3 separate regions of the Homo sapiens genome follow, and all the other regions are linked to region 1. The links are contacts of gene promoters, found by promoter capture Hi-C in human tissues and cell types (Jung and others, 2019). All regions are on one chromosome and are shown on one strand. Each heading gives the region's core, a stretch centred on a gene start or on the middle of the fragment in contact. The rest is flanking DNA. Distances are from core to core; before and after follow the strand shown. Region 1 holds the start of MTFMT (mitochondrial methionyl-tRNA formyltransferase). Region 2 overlaps DPP8 (dipeptidyl peptidase 8). Region 3 overlaps ZNF609 (zinc finger protein 609).

Region 1 (4,093 bases), core at 842-3,341:
CACGTGGCTAGTGGCTACTGTTTGAACAGTATCATTCTAGGGATTTCCTGTGCATACAGAAACATATACAGTATGGATACTTTACACAACTGGGATATTACATACTGCTTTGCATTTTTTTTCCTTTTAACAATGCTATATATGCTATTATGTGTCTTTTTGAAAAATGGGTTAAATATACGTATATTTGTATATTCACTGAACATTTCTAGAAGGAACTGAAAACAGTGGCTGTCTCTGGATAAAGGAACTGGGAACTGCTAAACAGAGGTGGAAGGAAGTAACTTTTCACTGTATATCCTTTGAATCCATGGAACTTTTTTACCATAACCATGATGCCATTCAAACACTACTTTTTAAAAAACAAACAAAAATACATAACATGGCTATCATTCCATGGCAGTACCTGTAGCACTACCTCATCCTTTCTACCTGCTGCATAGCATTCTAGTACCCAGGGGGGTACATTTATTAAACAGGTATTGTATGTACACGTTGAGGAGTTATGAGGAGTATGTCCTGGGGCACTATAAAGAAAGCACAGGAGTAATGGAGCTGCCAAGTGAAGCATCATCAGAAGTATCAGGATAGGCCAGGAATGATGGCTCAGGCCTGTAATCTCAGCACTTTGGGAGGCCAAGGTGAGAGGATCACTTGATCCCAGGAGTTTGAGATAAGCCTGGGCAACATGGTGAAAACCCGCCTCTACAAAAAATTTAAAAATCAGGCGTGGTGGTGCACGCCCGTAGTCCTAGCTACTCTGGAAGCTGAGATGGGATGATTGCTTGATCTTTGAGGTCGAGGCTGCAGTGAGCTATGAGCCGGCCACTGCACTCCAGCCTGGGGGACAGCGCGAGACCTCGCCTCAGAAACAAACAAAAAAAGTGTTGGTATAAATGTATAAATGCAGTGAGAGACGCATGTGACAACAGCAGCCCATGAAGGGTGTGCAAAGGGAACATGGGGTTTCCTTCCGGGTGTGTGCACAGAGGGGTGTGTGGAGGAAGGAAAACCACACAGGGGATTGACGAAGGATTCAATACATGAGGGGCTGCTGTGAAGTATCTGTAGGGAAAAGGAGATGGAGATGACCAAAAAAAGTGGAAGGAGGACTGCGTCAGAAAAAAACAGAATGGGGAAATAAAAAACATTAATTGGGAAAAAGAGGCAGAGAAGTATATACGGTATTGCCACCACATACCATGGACTCTCAGGACTGGTTGGATTTCAAATAATTTTCTTTCCCAGTAAACAAAACTTGTTAAATATTATGAATACTAAATGTATACCTAACAGTTCTGATTTATAAATTTATTCTTTTGAAAACAGGTCGTTTTTGGACTATGTCCTTGTATACAAGGAGCACAGGGGGAGCAAAAGAGCGAGACACGGGTGTGCCGAAGGATGGGGGTCAGGAGGAACTGCAAAGCAGGGAACTTTGAAGTGGGACCTGGTTTTAGTCCGAACCACCTCGGCTGATGACCTTGGGCAATCGCATAACCTCTCTGAGCCACGGATTCCCCACACTCAAAACGGGCAGGGAGGCCGTGGGACTGGCCCGGGGGATGCAGGCAGAGCGCCCAGCCCCAGCTCGGCACAGCGTGGGTGGCAGGGCGCCTGGAGAACCCACAGAGGCGGCGGGGAGTGAGGGGCGCAGACCGCAGGTACTAGGCGCCCAAAGGCTGACCGGCGGGAATGGCGCACCTTCTGGGAGCCAGAAGACGCCGAGATCTGGGCCCACACCGCTCTGCCGCCCATGCTTTCCGCAACCAGAAGTCCAAAACCCTCGGGGCCGGCCGCCCGGGCGCGGCCTGGAGGCCTTCAGCGGCCGGGTCCCCGGATCCCTGGCCCGGGTACCTGGCGGCGTGCAGCGCCCGCAGCGCCTCGCGGGCGAACTGGTCCGTGCCGAAGAAGAGCACCCGCCAGGGAGGCTTCTCGCGGACTCTGGAGTCCCGGCAGTCCTCCCAGCCGAGTCGGGCCAGTGCTCGCCACTGGGGACTCGGCCTCCCACGCCTGGCGCCATGAGCCAGCGGAGGACCCCAACAGCGCCGCACCAACACCCTCATCGCCTCGGCCGCCGGCGGCCGGCCCTGCGCAGGCGCATCGGGGCGGGGACAAGGGTGCAGCCTGGGGAGGGCGGGGCTTGCCTGCTTGGAGGCGGGGTCTGGTTGGAGTTGGTGAACGAATTTGCCCGCTACAGCGGCCCTAGATTTTTGTTCTGTTTATTTGCACTATGTAGCCAATCCTCCAGAATAAGTCTTTCTTTTCTTTTTAAAATCGCTTTATTTATTTATTTATTTATTTATTTATTTATTTCAGAAAGGGTCTTGCTCTGTCGCGCAGGCTGGAGTGCTGTGGCGCGATCTCTGCTTACTGCAACCTCACTGCTCCTGGGCTCAAGGGATCCTCCCACCTCAGCCTCCGGAGTAGCTGGGGTACAGGCACACATCACCATGCTGGGCTGATTTTTTGTAGAGAGAGTATCTCACTATGTTGCCCAGGTCTCAAGCAATCCTCCTGCCTTGGCCTCCCCAAGTGCTGGGGTTACAGGCGTGAGCCACTGCGCCGGCCCAGGATAAGTCTTTTGGTAACAAATCGTGCATGTTTTCAGACAATGAAACCTCATGTATATAGTGCATGTCATTTCCTCAACCATTATAACCAATATTTGCTGAGTACTTCACTCCGTGCCACGTTTTTGCTAAGCATTTTATATTCATTATTCTGGTTAATCATCAGATCAACCTTAGGAGGTAGATACTATTACAAATATGTTACTGAAGAGAAACTGAAGCTCCGTGAAATTAAGGACTTACCAGTGTATAAGGTCCACACAGCTAGTAAAGGACAGAGCAGAGGTGGGACTCTTGTAATTCCAACGCTTGTAATCCTAGCCGTTGGGCCTTCTCAGCGATCCTATGTATTAGGCAAGTCAATTACCCACATTTTGCACCTGAGGAAACTGAGCCTTAGTTACTTGTCTGCAGTTACTTTCTTGAATCGAAGGCTCCATCTTTACTCCTCCCCTGTGGGTTCCTTTGCACACAGAAGGATACCATAGAGGTGATTCCTAGGGAAATGGACAGGGAACCTTATCCCCAGAAGACCTCCGAGGACCGTTAGTGCTTAGATTCTGTATCCCCAAAGCCTCCTTGAGTGGAGTCAGACATCCATGAAACAGGATCTGAGCAGAGACTGAAACCGAATTTTGTTCTAATCTTATTCTCACCACCATTTTTTTTTTTTTTTTTTTTTTTTTTGAGATGGAGTCTCGCTCTGTTTTTCAGGCTGGAGGGCAGTGGCGGGCGATCTTGGCTCACTGCAACCGCTGCTTCCCAGGTTCAGGCGATTCTCCTGCCTCAGCCTCCCAAGTAGCTGGGACATGCGCCACTACACCTAGCTAATTTTTGTATTTTTAGTAGAGATGGGATTCACTATGTTGACCAGGCTGGTCTTGAACTCCTGACCTCAGGTGATCTGCCTGCCTTGGCCCCCCAAAGTGCTAGGATTACAGGCATGAGCCACTGCGCCCTGCCGTCTCACCACCTTTTCCCATCACACAGTCTTAAACCCAGTGACCCTGGACCAGTCCTTTTTCCTAAATTATGAGCTCTGCACATCCCTGCTCCTGTGCCTTTGCTCATGCTCCCTTCCTAGACTGCCTTCCCACATCTCTTCATCTCTAAATGGTATCCATTCTTCAACACGAAGTTCAGACATTCGCCCTGAAGCTTCAAGCTCTTGCCTCCTTAGATTTCTTGTCTTTCTCCATGTGCCCCTGTTTTTTTTTGTTGTTGCTGTTGTTTTTGTTTTTGTTTTTGAGACAGAGTCTCACTCTGTCACCCAGGCTGGAGTGCAGTGGTGTGATCTTGGCTCACTGCACCCTCCACCTCCCCTGTGCAAGCGATTCTGCTGCCTCAGCCTCCTGAGTAGCTGTGATTACAGGCGCCTGCCACCACGTCTGGCTAATTTTTTGTATTTTTAGTAGAGATGGGGTTTTGCCGTGTTGGGCAGGCTGGTCTCGAACTCCTGACCTCAGGTGATCCACCTGCTTTGGCCTCCCAAAGTGCTGGGATTACAGGCATGAGCCACC
Region 2 (4,093 bases), core at 1,124-3,623, 430 kb after region 1:
AAAAAAAAAAAAAAAAATTGCCAACTCTGTAAACCTTCAGAAAATAGACATTTTCATATATCCTCCATTTACAGAAAAATCTACCCTTATTGCAAAAATGAGTATAATAGGAAGTCACATACCCTGAAGATATCTGACCTCTGCATTAATGCCATCAGGGAGAGGTATCCTCCATAGGACCAGCCGTGGATGCCCACACGATCTAAGTCAATGAAATCATATCGAGAAGCTAGATATTGGAGTCCTTCCACCTGATCGTCAATTTCTATTTGACCCTGTCAAAAAAGGGAGAACATTTCACTGATTCTGATGAATAAAAGTCTCGTAAGAGTGCTTTCAAAGATGATAAATGTTTTTACTAAAAATACCTGTAGGTGTTTTAATTTTTATTTTATTTATTTTTTGAGATGGAGTCTCACTCTGTCACCCAGGCTGGAGTGCAATGACGCAGTCTCGGCTCACTGCAACCTCCGCCTGGTGGATTCAAGTGATTCTCCTGCCTCAGCCTCCCAAGTAGCTGGGATCACAGGCATGCGCCACCATGCCCAGCTAATTTTTGTATTTTTTAGTAGAGACGGAGTTTCACTATGGCCAGGCTAGTCTCGAACTCCTGACCTCAAGTGATTCACCCGCCTCGGCCTCCCAAATTGCTGGGATTACAGGCGTGAGCCACCACACCCGGCCCCGTAGGTTTTTTTAGATTAGAGTTTATTACCAACTGAGATTCTGTTGCCCCCTCTCCCTCAAATTTTTTAAAAATCTATTTGGAGATAGGGGCCTATATCTTCTGTTGCTAGCCTGTCCTAGAGTTTAGTTACCACTTAGTCATAAAGCTCCCTCCTACTGCTACTCAAACTGTCCCTTGCTATTTGGGTATTTCCCATTTCCATTTGTTCTGTTGTCTGCTAAGAGGTCAGCATCTTCCTTGTAACAAGCCTTCCTATACCCAAAGACAAAAAATTAGCCCCTTAAGTAATTAATTTTACTTTTCCTTTTTATCTATTTTTTTGGAGACATGGTCTCACTCTGCTGTCCAGGTTGGAGTGCAGTAGTGTGACCAGGGATCACTGTAGCTCAACCTCCCGGGCTCAAGTTATCCTCCCACCTCAAGCCTCCCAAGTAGCTGGGACCACAGGCATGCGCCACCATGCCCAGCTAATTTTTTAACTCATTTGTAGAGGTGGGGTCTCATTATGTTGCCCAGGTTGGTCTTGAACTCCTGGGCTCAAGTGATCCTCCTGCCTTGGCCTCCCAAAGTGCTGGGATTACACGCGTGAGCCACTGCACCTGGCCTACTTCTCCTTTTTAATTTTTAGTGCAGTAAAGCAGAAGGAATTGCTCTTGAGGCCCTGTCTTCTTATTTCCCTATTATACTACCTCTAGGAACTGAACATACTACTTCTTTAAAGTCCTAATTCCTACCACCACCACCTTGTCTATATTACTAGGCCTGCCAGTGCACGCAATCTCACTTCACTGAGCCAAAAACAAAAATAAAAACAAAAAAACTTACATGAGAATACAACATAAGGTCAAAGAACTGGCTGTGGGAGAAAATCCCCATGTCTTACTCAGCATGTCCAATAACACTGGCAAACACAGTAACTGCCTTACTGTGCAAAAGGAACATCGGATTCTCATCATTTCCCAAAGCAGCAGAAAGGACATGGGGCATCTCTAAAAGGTAGCATTTAAAGCTTCCTGTAGAGAGAAAGAGGCTTGTCACAAGGAAGGCACTAACCAGTTGGATTCCCTCTTCACAGAGGACAGAACAAATCTCAATTATTCCTCAACTGTGTACAGGATGCTGAAAGCTAAATGGTGCTAAATTCTACCCAAGTGGACATACAAAACAGAGAGGATATTTCTATGTACAAGTGGCTCTATCTCAGTTCCCCAAAGTTACGTATAAGTAGGGTGTACATCAAGTTGCATCTTCTCTCCCACCCCCAAACTCTAACACATACACTCTCACTCACTCATTCATAGCCCCTTCCCCCAACTCTCTTTCAAGGGTTTCACACCAAACAATGGACCAGAAAATGTAAATGTCTGTAAAAGAAAAGTGTTTTATGCTCACACACCATTTTATATTTAAAGGCGCCTTCAAATTTAAGCCCTCGGTGACAGGATCCCCTGTTGTCTATCACTACAACCACATAACCTAGAGAGGCTAGGGTATTCAAGCGGAAATACTTGACTCCTTTAAACCGATTATTCACCAACTGCACCTGAGGAAGAAACACAACTTCAGTTTATCATATGGAAGCATATAAAAACCCAAGAGCGGCTGGGCATTGCAAGAAATAGAAAGCTTAATTTCACTATTATTTTACCTTTAAAATGTAATTTTTTAAGTCATTTCTTTTTAAATTAACAAGTCTGTTTATTTGCTTCTTGCTTAACTTCACACTCAAGTTCAGGGCAATTACTGAACAACCATAGGCTTTAAAATTCTAACTTAAATATTAATTACATATAAGTGAATCAACCCACCCCATATAAAAAGTTACTAAATTGATTACTTCTACCCTGAAGAACTGTGCTATTCGAATGACAGTTACAAGGACAAATAAGAAAAACTTTCCTCCCCATCAGACATCAGATATGACTGCTGCTTGGCTTCCTCCACTGCCTACCATTACCCTTCAGAATAAGTCTACATGGCCCTTGAGATCTTTGGCTACCTCTGACCTCATCTCATACCATTTCCCTCCAAGTGCACTGTACTCTAACCTTATTGTCAACACTATCAAGTTGGTTCTAGCCCCAGGAACTTGACATTTACCGTTTTCTGTGTCTGGAATGCTTTTCTCTCACATCTTTTGCATGGCTCATTCCTTCTCAATGTTTGTAACCTCAGGAGAGGTCTTGCCATCCCCTTTCCCAGCAAATCTTCATAGAACTTCCATTATAAAAAGTCATACTTTTGGGCTGAGCGTGGTGGTTCACACCTGTAATCCCAGCACTTTGGGAGGCTGAAGCGGGTGGATCACCTGAGGTCAGGAGTTCGAGACCAGCCTGGCCAACATGGCGAAACCCCGTCTCTACCAAAAACAAAAAATTAGCTGGGCATGGTGGGGAGTGCCTGTGATCCCAGTCACTCGGGAGGCAGAGGCATGAGAATTGCTTGAACCCAGAAGGCAGAGAGGTTGCAGTGAGCAAAGATCACACCACTGCACTGCAGCCTGGGCAACACAGTGAGACTCTGTCTCAAAAAACAAACAAAAAAAGTCATACTTTTTTTTTTTAAGAGATGGGGTCTCCAGGCTGGAGTGCAGTGGTACAATCATAGCTCAGTGCTGCCTCAAATTCCTGGGCTCAAGTGATCCTCCTGCCTCAGCCTTCAAGTAGCTGGGACTACAGGTGTGCACCACCATGCCTGGCTAATTTTTAAATTTTTTTGTAGAGATGGGGTCTCACCATCATATCTTTTTATGTTTGCTTATTATTTTCCCTTTATGGTCCATGAAGTGGAATATTAGTCTGACATGTTCACTGGGTATCCTCACTGCCTAGAACAGTACCTAGCACATCACAGGAACTTAATACCTGTTTGCTAAATGAATGAATGAAAAAGAGAAACAGGAGAATAATGTTTTTTTCCCATTTCTACCTTGGGAAGAGGGCGTTTGGTGAGTAAAGGCACTTGTATTTATTTATTTACTTAAGAGATGGTGTCTCACTCTGTACCCCAGGCTGGAGTGTGGTGGTACAATCATAGTTCACTACAGCCTCGAACTCCTGGGCTCAAGTAATCCTCCCACCTCAGCCTCTGAATAGCTGGGATTACATGTGTGTGCCACAGCACCTGGCTAAAGATATTTGTCTTTAAAGGGAGAGTGCTGAAAGAAGAAATACTAGGCAGAGAAGTACACGAATATGAACATTTAAAGAAAATCACCTCACTTCTTTGTCTGCTACCATGTATAGAAGATGGTCTCAATTGCTTGATATGAACACTTAAATATAATGCCTTTTGGCACTGGGAATCCAAAAGTCTCCTTCAGTATCAATTCTTCAAAACCTGTGTCCTGTTATCATCTAGCCTGATCTCTTTGGATTTTTATTTGCAGAACAGTGTCTGGCACAT
Region 3 (4,093 bases), core at 757-3,256, 350 kb before region 1:
TGATCCGGCTGCCTTGGCCTCCCAAAGTGCTGAGATACAGGCATGAGCCACCGCTCCGGCCTTAAATGTTTTTTAACTTGTTAGAAGAAAATGCTCTTATTTAACTCTACTCGTTTTGTTGCCCAAAGAACCATGTGGGGTGCTTCTGGGGTGGAAGGGCACTGCTTTAGCCTCACTCCTTAGAGCCTCCAGCTTCCTACAGCAGCCTAAATAGTCTCAACATTCTGGTGACATTATTATAAAGCACACTCTAAATAGAAATAAGCTTTTCAAACAGAAATAGGAAATTTCTTACCCTTGAGGTGTTCCTTTATCCCTGTCACTCACACCCATCAATATAAAAATCATAGTTGCATTTGTTGAGTGCTCGCCCTGAGCCAGGCGCTGTCCTCTGAGATTTATAGACATTATCTTTTTTAATCCTCCCTATCACCTTAAGTAATAAGTATTGATATCTTCATTTTTGATGATGAAGAAACTGAAGCTCAAAACAGTTATTTATTTGCTCAAGGTTACCAAGCTAGTAAGTCTCAGAGTAAGGTTTTGAGCCCAAGGCTCTGACTCCAGATAAGTGTGATCTTTCCACTTTATCATATCACTTCTCCAAGATGAATCTGAGACCAGTTCAAAGAACAGTATCAGATCTATGGAAGTTGGAAGCAGGAAACAGGGCCATGTTCCTAATATCCCTTAGCTAATTTTTCCTGTAGAGCTCAGTAAAGAAAGGTCAAGCCAACAGTCTCAGCCAAAGACACTATGTTAGAAAATACCTCAGCCTGTGCCTAGGAAAGCTGATGCCCACCCAATCAAGCTCACTAAAGCAGAGTTTCCTCTACCTCTCCCATCTCTTTGACTGTTTGATTTCTCCTTCCACAGGTTCCTACCTGCCTTCCAGCTACTCTTTTTCCCCATATGGCAGCAAGGTCTCAGGTGGTGAAGATGCTGACAAGGCACGAGCCAGCCCCAGTGTGACTTGTAAATCCAGCTCAGAGTCCAAAGCCCTGGACATCTTGCAGCAGCATGCCAGTCACTACAAGAGCAAGTCTCCCACGGTAAGAAAAGTACAGTGATGCTGGCTGTTACCCAAAGACTAGTAAGGCCAGATCCAGGGTCTGGGAGAAGGTGGGCAAGTTCAGGTCCTGACCACAGTGCAGCTTGGCTGACTTGACACTGGCAGCCCCCAGGGCATCTTCTTTATTCTTAGGTATCTTGCACTTTTAGGGGTCATAAGGTGGCACCCTGGGCATCTCACTTGTGTGTGTGTGTGTGTGTGTGTGTGTGGTTGTATGCATATGTGTCTCACTATAGTGCTTTTGTGTCTCTGGTTTCCTTTCCAGATAAGTGATAAAACTTCTCAGGAGAGAGATCGAGGAGGCTGTGGGGTGGTTGGGGGTGGTGGCAGCTGTAGCAGCGTCGGGGGAGCAAGTGGGGGTGAACGGAGTGTTGACCGGCCCCGCACCTCTCCTTCCCAGCGCCTGATGTCCACACACCACCACCACCACCACTTGGGGTACTCATTGCTCCCAGCACAGTACAACTTACCCTATGCAGCAGGTAAGCCTGTTTTCCCTACCACCTGTTGTTTTGTCTTGTTTTGTTTTGTTTATCTTCATCCCAGTAGTAATGTCCACAGCTAGGACCCTCCTACCTGCCTCATAAGAATCCTTTTTTAATTTTTTTTTTTTGAGCTTCTAATCTGTGCACAGTCCTAACCTCCTGCAGTCATTAAAGCATATGATATTTATTCCTCCCTTGGAGTTTGGGGACTCTTAAATTCCTCCAGAATACTGGCCTTGATAGTCAGAAGAATATGGAACAGGTGTTCCCCAAAGGCAAAGAGAAACAATCAGCTGAGAAATAGAGCCTTATTATCTATCTCCAGCAAATATATCTGGCTGAGTATCAGATTTTTTTTTCTGTCAGCACCCCAAAACTCAGGGAAAAAGATTAATGGAAGGTTTCTGTGAGTGCTACACTAACATGTTCTCCTGCTTATTCAGGGCTTTCTTCTACAGCCATTGTTGCCAGCCAACAAGGCTCAACTCCCTCACTCTACCCACCCCCCAGGAGGTGAGAATGGTAAGTCACTTTTATTAATTTGGGGCAACACATAAAGCCGGGATAGTTGCTACCTGGATCACAGAATCCCTAGGTGAGAAATAGCTATGAGGGGTCAGCAGTCTGGAATCCATGGAACCCTGGCCAAGCCTCTTGTACAAGAGTCTCCCGTGAAGCCATGTGCATCTGAGAGGACCTGTGGAACACAGTGTCCCCTAGGGACCAGTACTGGCCACTCCTACAATTCATTTTCTTGGAGTGCCACCTTGTGGTTTTTTTACCAACAGGCTGAGTGCCTGGTTATCTGTCCATGTTTCCCTTGCAGACACCAAGTGCCCGGATAAAGTCAGCTTCACGGGCCCGGACTGGCTTACCCAAGGAGGTGCTGAAGGTGCCGTTTAGACATCAGTTAAATGGTGTTGATCATCCTGTTTGCCGTTTCCACCATGACTGAAGGCAGACCCTTGGCTATCTCACCTCCACCAGACCTCCGGACTACCTGACCCTACCTCTTCCTCAGGAGCTGGAGAGCTGGTACTTAGCAAAAATATTTATTCTCTCAGCCACAGTTATGACTATTGTGGCCTCTGTGGAGATGAAGGCACGGGAAGCAACCAGGGGAACATGGCCTCAGCCCAGAGAAGCCACTGCTCTGTTCCCCAAGCCCTTGGTCTGCTGCTGGAGCAGTACCAGCCCCCCCGCCCACCAGGGAGGGACCCCCACCCCCAAGCACTGGGTAAGGTCTGAAGACAGCACAGCAGCCATACCCCTCACCATCATTACCACCATCACCAGATTCTGCATCTCCCTAGTGCTTTGCACCCTGGGAATTGGCAGCATGTGGAGGAACTAGAATCTCAGGAAAGAAATTGGGGGTTGTTTTCTACATAATTGTGAAAACAAGGTCTTCAAATGTGGAGACTTCTCCCCATTTACATGAGCACATATAAACGCTCACAACCTAGCCTGGAAAGGAAGACCAAGGCATCTGCCCCAACATGGCCTTGAGCTGCCTGTGAGGCAGGGGGCAGGGGTTCCAACACCAGCACAGGGCTCCCCAGGGACACTGGGAGCAAGCTGGTGCTGGAGCATGAATGACGTCTGTGAAGTAGAACCTGCGTCCCCACTAAGTCCTGCTGCTTCTTATTCCCCAACTCCTTGCCCTTTTCCCTTCCCTCCTAACCCCTTGGTGCCTTTCCCAGGGGGATCCCCACACTGGTCTTGCCTCTTCTTTTCCACTGCTTGGCTCTTAAGCCTCAGGCAGATAAACTAGTATTCCCCCCAGCTTGGGGAACCTTGGAGTCTGCCAGGTCACCTTAGGGCAAGGCCCAGAAGGCAGCCCCTGGGAGCACCCAGCAGTTCTTGGAGATGTCCTGTCATCTAGCCATCTGATATCTTCCTCATTTGAGGCCACAGATATATACAGCCCAATTCCTCTGTCTACAAGTACATGATTTTATATAGCTCAGTCTATAACCTCCATGTGGGCCAATATAAGCTGTGTTTCTTGGTAACACATATTTTGTTTGAGGGGCCACTGGCCATGGGAGGTTATTTGTTCCTTAGACCCTGGAATAACACATCCAAGCCATTACTTATTAGAGTCTCAGAATGTACTCAGTGGAGCTGTGCTTTGAGGCAGCCAACATTTCTCTGCTCTCCTTAGAAATGCAGTCTCCCAATGGAAGCTTTATACTCTTTGTACTGGGAAAGTGAGGATGATTTGGTAGCTTTATTGGGGTCATGTCTTCCCCAAGGTGTGGGGAGCTTAGCTTACTTGGCTTTTGAGGTATCATCCCTCTGTTCTCCCCTCCTATCTTTCCATGACCCTCTGGATTGAGAGAGAGAGATAAAGACTGACAGACACCAGTGTAGGCTGGAAAAGGGAGTGTGTGACCAGAGTGCCAAAAGTGACTAGGAGCAGGAACTTGGCTCCGACTCAGTTTGGAAAATGGGAAATAGGGGACAGTAAGCACAATGCCCAGTAGTAGTTGATTTCCAAGGACCCTGGAACCCTACACTTGAGAGGCTTAGG

What was found. The method cuts DNA at HindIII sites, captures the fragments that hold promoters and counts their contacts. A contact is called where the count stands out against the background at its distance.
Region 2: a contact is called between a fragment that was not itself captured here and the fragment with the promoter of MTFMT in region 1, in 1 of the 25 tissues and cell types used here (adrenal gland).
Region 3: a contact is called between a fragment that was not itself captured here and the fragment with the promoter of MTFMT in region 1, in 1 of the 25 tissues and cell types used here (spleen).

The regions. Positions count from the first base shown.
Region 1 is chr15:65,027,548-65,031,640 of GRCh38, forward strand. It overlaps MTFMT (mitochondrial methionyl-tRNA formyltransferase), which reads right to left and starts at 2,092. Exons shown (of 9, transcript NM_139242.4): 1 at 1,858-2,092. The coding sequence starts at 2,066. RefSeq lists silencers at 1,505-1,804, 2,055-2,244. The HindIII fragment of the contact is 8,500 bases long and covers 1-4,093 here.
Region 2 is chr15:65,454,141-65,458,233 of GRCh38, forward strand. DPP8 (dipeptidyl peptidase 8) reads right to left here. Exons shown (of 20, transcript NM_130434.5): 16 at 2,085-2,231; 17 at 123-275. Among named protein-coding and RNA genes, the nearest start is that of IGDCC4, 33 kb to the left of the region's middle. The HindIII fragment of the contact is 4,987 bases long and covers 1-4,093 here.
Region 3 is chr15:64,679,309-64,683,401 of GRCh38, forward strand. ZNF609 (zinc finger protein 609) reads left to right here. Exons shown (of 10, transcript NM_015042.2): 7 at 877-1,052; 8 at 1,338-1,554; 9 at 2,001-2,079; 10 at 2,384-4,093. The coding sequence ends at 2,074. Among named protein-coding and RNA genes, the nearest start is that of OAZ2, 22 kb to the right of the region's middle. The HindIII fragment of the contact is 5,319 bases long and covers 1-4,093 here.